Linked DNA regions of Homo sapiens: region 2 is linked to region 1. Evidence: promoter capture Hi-C in 16 types of primary human blood cells and fetal thymus (Javierre and others, 2016). All regions are on one chromosome and are shown on one strand. The core of a region is centred on a gene start or on the middle of the fragment in contact, and the rest is flanking DNA. Distances in the headings are between cores, read along the strand shown.

Region 1 (7,694 bases), core at 3,616-6,115:
TTATATAGTAGTATCCACTAATTATGTGTTTACATGTGCCAAGTACTCTAATAAGTGACTGACATGCATTATATCATTTCGTCCTTCCAATAGCCCTATGAGCTAGGAACAGTATTATTCCTCTTTTATATATAAGAAGAGTAAAGCTTACCAGTGTCCAACAATTTGCCTAAAGTCACCTATATAAGTGGAAGGGAAGAAATTTAACCCACATATTTTGACTATAAAACATGACCTTTTATACAGTGTGTCATAAAAGAGAAATGGAAAATTAGCTTTCATAAGAAGAATCTAATTTGATAGTTCTTTTAGGAACAACTTTCCCACTTCAAAGGTTTTAGGATTCAAGGATAAATGACACTAAATCCAGCTATAAGGTGAGATGGTATTCAATCCATTAAAACAGTGGTTCTGAAATGTTTTCAGGTAGCAAATACCTGGAACTTGTGGTGTTATATGGAAAAATTTAAAATATATTAATAAATTTAATTTCACCAAAAAGACTGTAACATAAGACCATATTTTACATAAATGTCCCCACATTATTTTGAATATATAGGTTTTCCAGTCACATGAAATATTTGATCCATTACTGTTTCTTTTTTTTTTTAATCTGCTAGGTGAAAAATGCTAGCAATCTACTAATTTTTTAAGAATGACTATGAGGGAAAAAAGCTTAAAATTGAAAAAAAATATTTTTCTGTTAATTAGAAATACATCATCATTCAATTTAGTAGATCATCTTAGTCCAACCTACTGAACTCTTTCATATGAGCATAATTTGAGAACCACTAAAATATACATTTATTAAGCACCTATATTTAAGAAAATATGCAATGCGTTATGGGAAAACAATAAAATATCATGTCTCAGTTTACAAACTTACCGAGAAGAAAAAAAAATTCCTTACAGGGTTTTGATTTTGTCTTCTAAGACTATATAAATGTATGAAAAATGTTTACGCTTATTACAAGAAAATTAACTATTGTAGCTATGGAATAATCATCAATGCAAATTAAAACCTGTATATATGTATATGGGAGGTCTTCAAAGAAGTTATGAAATAGGGTGACACTATCAAATTCATACATTTGAAAATTTACTTTTGGAGTAATGCATTGTGAAGAAATTAGATCAAGAGAAACAGTTGCAATAGTCCAAGTAAAAATGTGGCCCTGAAATAGGATAGTAAAGTAGGAAGGAAATAATTTGAAAGAGGTTCCTTAAGATATAGAATCACTATGAATTGACTTGACTGGATTTGGAGGTTGAAAAAAGAATCAAAGATGACTCACCAAAGTTTCTAGTTATGATACCTAGATGGAAGGTAGATAGGTTTTTTTTTGGGAGGGGGGAGGTATACACATAAGACTATGAAAAGTTCGAAGGCACATAAGAGTAGAGAGGGAATATGAAGGTGGGGAATAGGAAAAGCTGGCCTAAAATGAGGAGTAAGAACTGAAATAACAGAAGATAAAAAGCAGATGTTATAGGCTGAGGAAGATGTGGAATCCCTTACACTCCCTTTAGAAAGACATAAGAAGCCATTAAAAAACTATTACTAGGGAAATGACATGGTTGATTTAAATCATTGGAAATGATTTAAGTGTCAACGAGGCAAAAAATATTTGGAAATCGTACATCTTGGTTTCTTGACAAATGCCATAATAACTATTATCATAATGGTACCAAGAAATATTTCAAATAGAAACAGAGAATTCACCCACTTAAGTCACCTACTTTAAGAAAATTTTACATCAGTGTAGGCTGGAGTGAAAGTTTACAGTATTGAAATTCAAACTGACAAGGTAAAAGACATTTTATATGCTTTACTGAAACACTAGCAAATCTTTTGTAATATCTTAATTCAGAGGGAAAAAAGTCTTAAAGGAGACTGACTATATGTCAGAATTTTGAAGCATTCACTATTTAAATCAAAATACTTCCTAATATGTACTGCCTTAACCCATAAAACAGATCAGCAATTTATATGGCCAAATGAGTCCTATCTTTATGACAAAAATTTACTTAGATAAACTAGTAGTCTTGTCTCTGCCCACCACCCCATAGCACAGTTTGGTCTATTATCAATCAGAGTCTGTCTTAGTTTACTAGGGCTGCAATAACAAAGTACCACAGACTGGGTGGCTTAAAAAACAGAAATTTATTTTCTCATAGTTTTGGGTGCTAGTAGGCTGAGATCAAGGTGTCAGCATGTTTGGTTTCTTCCAAGGCTTCTCTCTTGGCTTGCAGATGGCCACCTTCTAGCTATGTCTTCAAATATGTTTATGGAAATATTGTTCACAGAATCTATAGGAAGCCTGGAAAATCAGGCTTGGGAAATAAAAGAAGCAAGAAATAATAGCAAAGAATGAAGTAAGGACTTGTATGGATCTTGCCACACTGGCCTGCCGCCACTGGACTGGTAATACCATACATGCACTCTAATGCCCTGAAAAATTCCTACACTTTGAGTCTTTGTCTTGTTTTCTTGAGATTAAAAGCCTGAGACATAGGGCTTCCTTCCTATACAGAAGGACATTAGAATGCTGGATAGCAAACAATAATTTCTATTCAGTACAAAATCTACTGCCTTAATCTATTACATCTGATACATTCCAATAAATGTAAAGTTATCCAAATGGCTATATCCAAGGCAGTAAATTCACAGCCTGTCTACCAAATCGAAGCAGTCAGGTTTGACAGTTTTTCTTTTAGTTCTTTTACGGTGGGCATTTACCTCAGGTTTAACACTGTTCCCACAACTTCCTAATGTATTTCACTCATCCTGACGCTCAAGTTTATAGCCCTGCTTTCTTGGGTATATGAATTGTAACCCTTGGACTATGCCTTCTAAGCACTGTTTTGTGAAAGTTTCGTTTGAATTGTAAGGTCAATAAAAATAGCAGTAGAAGACATAAAAGTCCCAGCCCTGCTACCATTTGCTATTTGAGACCAGGAAAAACCATGTACCTTATTTCAAAAAGTAGTGAATTCAATGAGTTGGACTTCCTTATTTCTAAAATGTATGAAGAAATAGTGTACGAGGGAGAGTGCTATAAGAGCATGTACTATATTCAGAAATGTGTATTTTCCACTTGAGGCAAGAAAGGATCTTTGTTCTCTACCTGGGCTACACTTCAGAGGAAAAAACCGAAAGCAAAGGTCAGGAGACAGAAGAAGTTATGAACCATGAAACTGGAGCCATTATCATAACATTATGAGACTCTAGATTCTTTGTAACTTCCCCATATTTGTTACTTATAATTCATTTGCCTCATAATAATAATCAGTAAAATTACTCAAAATCAAAGGCCCAAAGGGCATCTTTGGGGCACTAAAAGTAGGAAGTTAAGACAACTACATTCCATATGCAAACAAAGTCTCAAAGGAGACGATCCCCAAATAATCAAATGGATAATAATACTGAGTAAAGAGGGGGCTGGCTGCATCCCTCCATCCTCTGACAAGAACTATGACAATTACAAAAAATAAAGATGAAAATATGTAAAAGGGGGGGAGCCCATTAACCTGCCAATATGAGCCCAAATGAAAAAAAGTGTGTCAACATACACCTGCCATTCTCGACACAATTCTTTTTAGTAGCTATCACATTTCTTCTACACACACACATACACACACAAAACATACTTGGGGTTCCTTGACATTATCTTACGTAGAAAATTACTAAGCAAATAATCAATTTGACTAAGTAGGGGGGCTTATCGTTTTCTCCCTATTCAAATTAATGAAAAAGATAAAAAAACTTTTATCTATAAAGATGATTCTTGGTTCCACAATGCTTCTTAACAGAAATAGTTTAAACAATAATCATTTTAAAAAATAACAGCTAAGCATTGTACATTTTTAAAAAATAGTATTTTCGTTTGTACAAATATCAATGGGTCCCATTCATCATTCAAGTACCTTTTCAAACAGGATCTAAGTTTGTAATGTTAGGTAATAGGCATATAGGCTGAAGCCGGACTGCCAAGATTACAATTGCTGGCTCTGTCCTTAATATAACTTTGGGCATCTTTCTTCCTTTCTCTGCTTCATCTATAAAACGAAAACAGTAACAACTCCCACCTAAGTGTCGTTGTGATAACTAAATGAAATAGTGTGTGTAATGTGCCAAGGAATTTCTGGAGCTACCAAGCACTTAAACTAAGTTCTAACTAAGTTTGGTTACTTTCACGTTATAAAGGAATTTTTAGGAATCACCTAGGCACTCTCCTAAAGTCTCAAAATAACTTAATACAGTACTTCTAAGGAGTTCAAGTGCCTCCTTATCTGGGACGCCATCTCAGATGCTCTTCAAATGAAAGGGACCCTGCAAATGAAAGTTAACTTTTTCCATTTTTTAAATAATCCTTCGCAGGAATCTGAAGCACGCGACACTCACGGGCCATTCAGCTCCGCCTCTCCAGGGAACAAGAAGGTTAACTGAGTAACGTGGTCACGGAGCAACCCCGAGTCGCTGCGGCTGCTTAGTAGTCACTCAGGATGGGGATGGTACAGGGGACCATTAACTGGCCCGGCAGGAAAAGTTTCCCGGTGAGGTGACGATGGACAAGAGTCGCCCCATCGTAAGCGAAAGTGGACTGAGAGGAAGCACAAACGCATGGACTCAACCAGCTCGCCCAGATTCACCCTCAGGCCTTTTGCCATCTGAAAAGGGCCTATCGGATGCGCGACATCACGAGTGACGCGTAGTCATTTTCCCACGTCCCGTCCCTGCCCCCTCCTAGTGGGACGCAGTGGGCGCGCACGCGCAGCTCCGCTTCCGGGAGCCGCTCCTCGCTACCCACTATGCTCTGCGACATCGACCTGTCGCAAAGGCCGCGTTTGCGGGGCCAATGAGCGACTCGCTTTCCGTGCGGTGCGGCGAGTGAGGCCCCGGTCTTCCTCCTCGTCCTGCCGCAGGGCCAGAACCCCTGACGGTATTCAGCTGCGCGTAAGTCTGGCCGGTGCCATCTGTCTCCGCAATGCCCCCCAAGAAACAGGCTCAGGCCGGGGGCAGCAAAAAGGCGGAGCAAAAAAAGAAGGAGAAGATTATCGAAGTGAGTACCCACCCCTCCCCCACTCACGCCGCGAGCCCTCCGGAAAGCCACTTCCCCGCTCCGGGCTTCCCTGGGAGCCGGCTCGCTTCCTCGGGCCACGTGTTCCTCCCTTAGGCCTGTGTGGCCCACTGCCCCTTCTCCAGCCCCTGATGACGCTAGCTCTCTCATTACTATAGTGACGCTGCTGGCGCCCCCGCACCTGGGCTTTGCCTCTCCGCCCACACGCCCGTGTTCACCCACCCATGCACCCGGGTGCGAAATGACCCCTCGGGACTGGCACAGGGTTTTATCCTTCGCTAGTCCTCTCAGAATTGAGGAGATTTTCCAAGGTTATGTGTGAAGAAATACGCTGAACGGTCTCGGGCCAGCGTCTTTCTGGAAGACCGACTCATGACGAGTCTTTGTGTTCGTTATTTCTTTACCCGTCACCCAGGGATGGTACTGTTAGTTCTTTTGAACCAACAAATTACGACTTGGTGGCTTTTTCGATCCACCTCTGAAATGTTTAAAGTCCCATAAAGAATGGAAGGACTTTCCGTCACAACCCAGGGTCTTGAACGCAGAGCTTGGTACTTACATTCTGAAGTGGATTAAATAGGATAACGCCTTAAAAGAGATTAGGTTTCAGTGTCACTAATTGTGTGAAGTCCCGTAACCCAGTTTGAGATATATGTGTGTGTGTGCGCGTGTATATATGTATACATCTATGTGTGTGTATATGTGTATATATGTGTGTGTATATATATTCGTTTAACACATTGAGCCTGTAGCCCTTTAATGGCCAAGGAACGCTATTGACGTTCTTACATGTTGTGCACTTGTTTTCCAACAACTGAATTGAGTTTCCTTAAAAGATGAACCATATTTGACATTACGTAAACATACCATACAGACCCCAACGAGGTATTTCTTCCCTCGATTTCTGCTATTAATCCTCCTCATAATTAAATAGGACCTCTTGTACTTTGGATATAATTAGAAAAAGCCATGACCATTTTACCGCATAAGGTGTAAAGTCTGCTCATTGGATTTAAGAAAATGCTTAAGAATTTTGCTATACTTGGCCAGGTTCCAACTTTGGAGGAGAACTGGTATTCTTATTGCCAATTTGTACAGTTTAAAACTGTCATGAAGTACTATAGCCAGACACTTAAAAACAAAATATTACCTTCACATCTGTGTTTTCTATTACCTTATTTGAACAATCTGGATTCGTGGCACTTAGGTAAATTTCAGGGGTTGCTGATCGGATGGCATTCACTTTTATGAAAACCAAGGACATTTTAGGGATGTCGTTTTCCTCGAGATTGGACCCTGATACGAAGTAAAACTCCCATTGAAATTAAATGTTATGTAATAATTTAGACAATTTAAATTATACTTCATGCATTGTAGAGCTTTCTCTATATCTAATTGTTTTATTTTTAATTAGTAGGACTAGTATTCTTATTTTAAGGAATTATGTGTGAAAGTTGTTTATAGTATCCATCAACTTTTAAAATGATGCATATGTTATGATTCTAGTCATCTTGTGACGAAATTATTTTTTAGCTAAAGAGAAAGCAATTTTAGTTTCAATAATGAAGGTATCTCCAAAGAAAAATGCAAAATAAGACAACTGCACTTTTTAACTAAAAATATTAACAACAACAAAGTGGTGAAATTAAGCCCGATTTTGTGTTTTCTACATTTAATATATATTATTTTTTTAATTTATTTTTTGTTGAGGTATAACTTATGTAAAATAAAATGTACAGGTTCTAGATGTATAGTTCTATGTGTTTTGAGGAATTTATTCACCCAGGTAGCTGCCACCCTAATTAAGACTTGAAACATTTCTATCACCCCACTAAATTTGTTTTGTGCCTCTTTCTATTTAATTCTTTCCACACGTGCAGCCACTAATTTTTTTGACAGGATAGATTAGTTTTTACCACTCTAGGAACTCATATAAATTATACAGTAGGTAGCCTTTGTGTCCTTCTTCTTGCTTTCACACCATGCAGTGTTTTTGAGATCCATGCATGTTGTGTATATTTCTAGTATGTTCCTTATTGCTGAAAAGTATTCTCTTGTATGGGAACCATTACAATATGTCACCTTTTGTGTTTAGTGTCTCTCTCTACTTGGAGGAACCAAAAGACGTTATAATTGACGCTTGAAAAACAAACTTAGGATTCCAAAATGGGTTAGAGGCGGTGTTTGTTAAAATCTCGGCAGCCAGAATGGATTATTTTGTGGCTAATGGAGTCATCTGTAGGGACCTTAACCTTGGGGCATACGCTGAGTTGGCATGAGAGTGTCCAATCATCTGTATACATTAGAGCTACAGGATAGGCATCATTAGGGGATCTGGGTGGTGTGTCTATTTCTCTGGGAAGGACTGGTCTTGACTACACCCTCAGTTAATTGCAGTTGTTGAGCTTCTTGCTTTTGCTGAATATGCTTGCATTTTGCTTTCTTGTGTTTTGTGCTATCATTCTTTAACCTAACCTGCAGTACCGTTGGATGTATGTCTTTGAGGCCATTTCTTTCTGAAGACTGAGGTTTGGGTATGGGTTCTTAGTGAACAAGATGTTCAAATATTCCATTTGTTTCTCAGTGATCATAGTTTGTTTCCTTTGAAATGTG
Region 2 (7,694 bases), core at 3,300-5,799, 190 kb after region 1:
GGGAGGCTGAAGCATGGAGGTTGCAGTGAGCCGAGTTCATGCCCCTGCATTCCAGCTTGGCCTACATACTGGGCGAGACTCTGTCAAAAAAAAGGAAAACAAATCATGTCAGATGCAATCAGAAGTCAGCCTATCATTGGGAGTTTCATGTGTGTATGTGCATGCTCTTGATATCAAATGTGAAACCACTAAATTATCATATGCAGGAAAAGAATATACTGTGAATTCCATTAAAATAAAATATAATATTTACTCAGATATTTGTTGATTAAGTCAATGGACTGTTTTTAAAACTAAAAGCTTTTTTCCTCGATAGGTTACCACTAATGTCACCTGGGGCATTCAGCCAGCGCCCATGCCTGTGCCTGTGTGGGTGATCATTTTAGCAGTTCTAGCAGGATTGTTGCTACTGGCTGTTTTGGTATTTGTAATGTACAGGGTAAGTAACGGACTTAGAAAGAAGGAGAGAGGGAAAGCAGAAGAAAAGGGAAAGGGAAGAAGGAAAAGAAGAATGAAAAGTAAGGGAAGGAAGAAAGGGACTGTAATGATGATACTTGATGAGCATTACTTATTATATGAGGGAAGATAAATTTTATGAAATACAATTTAAATGTTCTTAGTGGTAATATAGTCACCCAAAAAATACTTTTCGTATTCTACACTGATGTGACAGTAATAATGGTTTTTCTTCAACTGACAGATGGGCTTTTTTAAACGGGTCCGGCCACCTCAAGAAGAACAAGAAAGGGAGCAGCTTCAACCTCATGAAAATGGTGAAGGAAACTCAGAAACTTAACTGCAGTTTTTAAGTTATGCTACATCTTGACCCACTAGAATTAGCAACTTTATTATAGATTTAAACTTTCTTCATGAGGAGTAAAAATCCAAGGCTTTACTGCTGATAGTGCTAATTGGCATTAACCACAAAATGAGAATTATATTTGTCAACCTTCTCCTTATAAATAAGTTCAGACATACATTTAATAACATAGGGTGACTTGTGTTTTTAGGTATTTAAATAATAAAATTTCAAGGGATAGTTTTTATTCAATGTATATAAGACAGGTAGTGCCTGATTTACTACTTTATATAAAATAGTACCTCCTTCAGTTACTGTTTCTGATTTAATGTACGGAACTTTATTTGTTGTTGTTGTTGTTGTTGTTGTTGTTGTTTTAAAGCAGTCCAAATTTGGACCTTAGCAATCATGTCTTTTGTATAGGTACTTAATGTTAATACATATTACACTACAGTTTACTTTTCAGAATACTAAAGACTTTATAACTGCATGAACTTGGATTTTTTTAATCACTCATATGGTAGAATTTTATAAACACATACATGATACCATCCAAATTCTTGCTTTTAATAACAAAGGTACAATATTTTGTTTTAGTATGAAAATCTGGTAGATCCTATTACACTTCTGTTTATATTAAATCCACAATATTTTATTACATTTTTAACTTGTATAAATTTTAGGTCAAATCCTTCAAGCCAACCTATACTAAAAATTAGTTCCATAATCACAAATGGCTCTTTTGTGTAATTGTTTAATTTCACCTGAATATCATAATGCTTAAAGCCATATGGAGTTGGAAATTATTTCCAAAGCATATTTATTCCATTGTTTTAGTCTGGCTATTTACAGTATAAAAAAAGCATTTTTATTAAAATACTGTGTAGTTCTTTGAGATAGTTGCTTATGCATATAGTAAGTATTACATTCTTAGAGTAGAGCAGAGTTTTTAGTTAGTATTAATTTATTTTCCTCCATTCATGTACTTTTCCTTATATTTCCAAAACTGTTACTGAGAATGGGTCAAGATCAGTGAGAAATCTTTACAGTTGACAGGAACCTGGACCCCTTACCCCAACTTTATGAGTAATGCTTGGAATAAAAACTCTTAAGGCAACTCACTGATTTACTTCTAGCAATAGCATGATGTTACAGGAATATTACCTCTGTTTAAGCAAGGTAATGTGTAAAATCAGTCTCGGCTGTCAGAATAACTTCTAAAAGGTATTTTTATAAGCAGTTCAAGTTACTGAAAACCTTTTAAACCTTTCTGAAGTTCGTTAGTATAAATTACTTTTCTAGGATTATTAATAAAAGCCACATAGGTGGCAAGTTGTAGTTTTATATGGCTCTGTAGAGTGGTGAACCTTCTAGAGGAATATATGATTTATTCACAGTTCCTCAAGGCCTGGGGATGATGATCAGTTATACCTATTTTTGTGCAATTACATCATGTTGTACATTAGAAATGGAGAGTTTAATAGCTCTTTAACTGCTGTCCTCATTAGGTAATGATAAATATTTCCCTTAAATAATTGACTATTTTGCTGTGTTTTAAAAATGATTGAAATTTATCTTGCCATATCTCATAATTTCATGCACAAGTTGACTGAGCTAATCTTGAGAATATATTCGTAAAATAGGAGCACATTTAGTTGAGGTATACAAGGTAGGACTCTAGACAAAACCTTCTATTTTAGCTTTAGTGAATTTCAAAAGTAATGGGTCTTGGAGTATAGATTTTTATTAGTAGCTTGAAAGAGCTTAATCATATGCAGTAAGTATTTTTATTACCAATAAATTTAAAATTTTTTAAGAAAAATATTTTTATCCTAGGGCCAAGTGTTGCCTGCCACCAATCAGTAAGTTAGTCTATAACAAATTTTACCCTAACAGTTTTACCACCTAGTAACAGTCATTTCTGAAAATATGTTGGATAGAAAGTCACTCTTTGGCAAAAGTGTTAGAATTTGCTTTTGTGCCATCTATTCCTTTTATGGCATCTATCTTGAAAGTAATCTTGTATTGGAGATTGAAAGATGCTGTAATTTAGAAATTAACATGATATCTTAAATTACCTTTATGAAATATAGTTTTGTATAATAGCATAGATTTTCCTTCAAAAAATGAACATTTATATATCTACAAAAATATGGAGAAGAGTAATTTGAAAGCCTACTTTCTGAAGAAAATGGTGGGATTTTTTTTTATCATGATTAAATATCAAAAAATTGCCCTATGAAAACTTTAAATCTCTAAAACATTTGAAATACTACCATATTTGTGATTTATTGAGAATAAAAATCCATTTTGAAATGTAAAATTTTTATGATCTGATTCAGTTTTAAGAAAACATGAATGAACTAGAAGATATTAAAAACATTTGACATTGGTAAGAAATATTGATACTGATATTGATTTTTATATAGGTATTTATTTCAGAATTGATATTTTGAGAAAAATACATGTGAGTCATTTTTTCTGTTTCTCTTTTCTCTTAACGATTATCACTGTAATTCTGAATCTGAAAGGTAAAACAATTAGTCAAAATATTATTGCCATCATTCTACCTGTGTTATGAAACTACTTATTCATAGTTAATTCTCATTAACACTTACATTTCCATAAAGAAAACTCAAGTATTAATAAAAGAGACTTTACTGGCTTAAGAGGGCTGTGAAAGATTTTTGATAGTGAATCATGACCCTAAGGGAGAGATTTGTGTGATAAAAGTATTGTATATAATAGATCAGCGATTTTTGTAAGGCAAACAGAATTTGTAAGTTGGCAGATCTTCCTAAGTTGCAAAATGTAATGATGAGCTTGGTGGAGAAGAATGAGTCGTTCTTGGAATACCTATGTGCAGCCACTACCCATCTCAATGTCACCTTGTTTGCATTCTTGGATAGCTTGTATATGTAGTAGTTTGATGAATAATTTAAAGAAAAACACCTAAAATTTGAAAAATGATTGTAGGATCAAAAAAGGCAGATGAAATTACTTAATACTCAGTGTTTTGGAGAGTATTCCTTTTAGTTTGTTGGTTGGCTGGTTTGAACGATAGAAATATGCAGCATGCAATATATGCTTATATTTCATTTTAATTTCTGATATATAATGAACTTCTTGGGAGAGGTACTGAATCTTTGATGTTTTTTGTCATTGTTCTCAAGTGCAATATAACAATGTAACCAAATCTAGATAATTTCAAAGTTGTCATTAATTTAGTAAGCCTAATATAAACAAATATTTGTATTATTTTTGTTAGCAGGAAAGAGTGATTAAGTGAGGTTATTTACCCCTAAATGGTCCATTCTGCATTGTATTTCAGGCTGGAAATGAATTATTCTTTACCAGTTTTGAAACACTTTGAAATATCCTAAGGTAACTTGGAAGCTGTGTAGTATATCAAATTAATTTGCTACCTAATAACATAGAAAGTAAATATCTTTGTGGTCACCCACATTGGGTGAGACAGAAAATGAATCTGTTCTAAAATTTGTAATTTGCTAACTTGATTTGAGTTAGTGAAAACTGGTACAGTGTTCTGCTTGATTTACAACATGTAACTTGTGACTGTACAATAAACATAAGCATATGGTACCACTTTTGTGTATGGGGTTTATCCTTTCTGTGACGTGTTTTTGTTTTTTGATTACATGAGCTAGCAATAATGCACTAAAAGGATGACCTCAGAGGTAACTTTCTGTAAAACTTCAAATCTTGAATGTCAGTTATTTGATGAAAAGAAACACAAAAAGAGCAAAATGTACCACATTAAAATTCATCCTTAGAAAGGCAAATATGTATTTGCCTGAAATATAAGAATTATTTTATTTCTAAACAAACATTTCTAAATTCATTATGCTAACCTTTATTATTTTTACATTATCAGATTCCTTTTAAAATGCACATTTACATCTTTTATAATTTTTAATTATAGTGTATATATGTCATTGCATATATGCAGTTGCAATATACATATGCAATTCTAGTATAAAAATACCTATTTTTATAAATGAAAAGTACCAAGAAGAAAATTAAGTGTTGAGATGCTTGGGAAATTATACTGAAGTAGCATAATACACCACCGTAAATTCCTATGGAAATAAGATAGAGTATTGCCAGCATCCACAAGCCCCCTTCTGTCTCTTTCTAATCATATCTCACCCTGCCCTGCAAAAGTAACCACTGTCCTTACTTCTAACACTATATGCTTAGTTAGATGTGATATTTCCCCTGGACCAGCAAGTCATAACTACCCCTATCCTGACCACCATACTTGATATTTTGGCTCCAATTAAGATGTAAAATGTACAGCACCTACACATGGAAGTATTTTGAGTGTGAGAATTAGAAAATGGGCAGAGCCTTTCTGTCCTGCCTGACTTACTAGTTGCTCTTTAGGATCAAATAAGATAACACATATGAAAGGATTTTATTTTTTTGAGATGGGGTCTTGCCATGTTGCCCAAGCTGGTCTCAAACTCCTGAGCTCAAGTGATCGCCTGCCTTGTCCCCCCAGAGTGCTGGGATTACAGGTGTGAGCCACCATGCCCTTCCTGAAATCATTTTGAAAACCGTTGAAACCACTTGGGTTCAAAGCTCTTCCCAGTCACTTACAAATTTACCCTCTGTGGAAGTATCTTGGTCCACAGAGGGTAAATTTGTGAGGACTTTGTGAAAATGCAAGAAAAGGGGTTATCAAACGCATATGTTAAGTGCTTATCCAGTAAGTCTCTTCCATCATTCACTTGACTGGTCCAAGAAGAAAATTTTGAGCCGTGGAATTCTCTTTTCCAAGATTAATTTTAAACATCCTTCGAACCTTATAATGGTGATAAATCATTAATGAGGCAAGCCATTATAGAGAGTTGTATTAGTCTGTTTCACACTGCTATAAAAGAACTGCCTGAGACTGGGTAATTTATAAAGGAAAGAGTTTTAATTGACTCACAATTCAGCATGGCTGGGGAGGCCTCAGGAAACATAATCATGGCTAAAGGCAAAGGGGAAACAAGGCACCTTCTTCACAAGGCAGCATGATGAAAAATGAATGCAGGCGGAACTACCAAACACTTATAAACCGTCAGATCTCGTGAGAACTCACTATCAATAGAACAGCATGGGGGAAACTGCCCCCATGATTAAGTTACCTCCATCTGGTCTCTTCTTTGACATGTAGGGATTGTAGGGATTATGGGAATTACAATTTGAGATGAGATTTTGGGTGGGGACACAGCCAAACCATATGAAGAAACATTCTTGAACAGGCCTGAAATACGATAAAATTCAACCACCGGCAGCCATGTTGGCAAAAAGTGACAGAACTGTATGCGTTTTAGAAAAAGAAATTATACTACTTATTTCTAAGAAGTAGCTTTGGTATTTTGCTTTGGTGATATGTCTATTTATTATGAATAATTTATATAATAGCTAATATTATAGATACTATATTGATACCCATTTTATTGATTTGAAATCAGCTCAGAGAATGATTATCAAAGCTCTCACACTAGCGTGTGGTAGAGCTTTGTTATGTCCCCAGGATGTTCTCTCTTAATGTGTTCTACAGTAGTGTCTTTCCTTGCAGAAACCACCTAGCCCCTCCATACCTTTTTATTATATCCTATATGATGGACATCGTAATAGCTACCTCATCATGTAGTGTTATCTTTGGAAATATTAAATATATGCAAAGTACTTATGTATATTAGTATATTAACATATTAGAAGACAGAATGATGGCTGGCAATATTTTCATATTACTGCCAAGAAGAGGTGATAAGGGCTTAAATAAACCAGGCCAGTAACAATGGGAATGGAAAGAAGGAGACATATTTAGGATAATGTATGATGTAGAATCCATAGGTTTCTGGGTTGGGTGATTGGCTGGACTGAGAACTGAGGCAGGAAATAGGAAAGGGGCAGAGATTTGGGGAAGAGCAGAGAGTTTAGGAGAGGAAAAGGTACATTACATTTGAGGTACTTATGGCATATCCAGATGGAAATTTCCAGCAGGTTCTTGTAAACATAAGCCTTGGTATTCAGGAGAAAGATCAAAGCCAGAGAAATAATATGGGTATTAATAGAAGCTAATGGATGAGATTGTTCAAGAGAAATGTGTAAAGTAAGGAGACAGGAAGAAGGCAGTGCAGTAAATTTTTACATTTAAAAGGAGGATGGGATGGCCAGGATCCAGGAGGCTTGGCTATAGAAGTAAAAAAAAAAAAGTCAAGAGAGACTGTGACGCAAGACCATAGAGAAACAAAGTAACCATAGAGAAACAAAGTAAGAGAAGAGTGGGTTATTCGTGACCTTACAGAAAGCCATTTCAGTGGTGTGGTCAAGCACTAAACCCGGATTACAGTGGGTCAAGCAGTGGATAGGCATTAGGCTTGGCTAGGCTTAGAAAGGAAGAGAACGGGCTGTAGTTTGAGGTGAAAGCAAAAGTAGGAAAGTTTGTTTTACAGATGGAAAATTCTTGAGCAGTTTTGTACATTAAGGGGCAAAACACATTTTAAAGGATATGATGTAGATAAGGAAAGAAGGAAAACTTGAGGAGAGCAGATCTAGAACATATTGGGAGAAGGAGGGTCAGGATTAGCATCAAGAGATGAGATAGAACAATCCCAGGGAATATCTTGGATCAGGAGCAAAATCACAAAGTTGCAAACAGTGGCCTGATGTTGTTTTGTTTGGCCTCAAGGTATTTTAAAAATAAATGAACTAGTTGGCACCATTAATGTATTATAAATACCCCAAAGACAGAGATTCTGAATTCTAAGAGCCACGGTATTCTTGAGGATAGGAGCCTGTGTTCTTGCTTGGATACAGCATTGGAACTGAGTAAGGTCTGCACTAAGATGGTCAAGCAATTTTGGGGTTACCATAA

What was found. Contacts are between HindIII fragments. The CHiCAGO score rates a contact against its expected background, and 5 or more counts as called.
Region 2: a fragment that was not itself captured here is called in contact with the fragment with the promoter of ZC3H15 in region 1 in 1 of 17 cell types (M2 macrophages); the score reaches 5.1 in M2 macrophages.

Annotation. Positions count from the first base shown.
Region 1 is chr2:186,481,395-186,489,088 of GRCh38, forward strand. It overlaps ZC3H15 (zinc finger CCCH-type containing 15), which reads left to right and starts at 4,866. Exons shown (of 10, transcript NM_018471.3): 1 at 4,866-5,063. The coding sequence starts at 4,989. LOC105373785 (a long non-coding RNA gene) reads right to left here and starts at 4,606. Exons shown (of 2, transcript XR_001739147.3): 1 at 4,406-4,606. It also overlaps the pseudogene DPRXP1. RefSeq lists an enhancer at 4,496-4,975. The HindIII fragment of the contact is 12,604 bases long and covers 674-7,694 here.
Region 2 is chr2:186,676,497-186,684,190 of GRCh38, forward strand. ITGAV (integrin subunit alpha V) reads left to right here. Exons shown (of 30, transcript NM_002210.5): 29 at 317-439; 30 at 701-4,405. The coding sequence ends at 796. Among named protein-coding and RNA genes, the nearest start is that of FAM171B, 14 kb to the right of the region's middle. The HindIII fragment of the contact is 8,502 bases long and covers 299-7,694 here.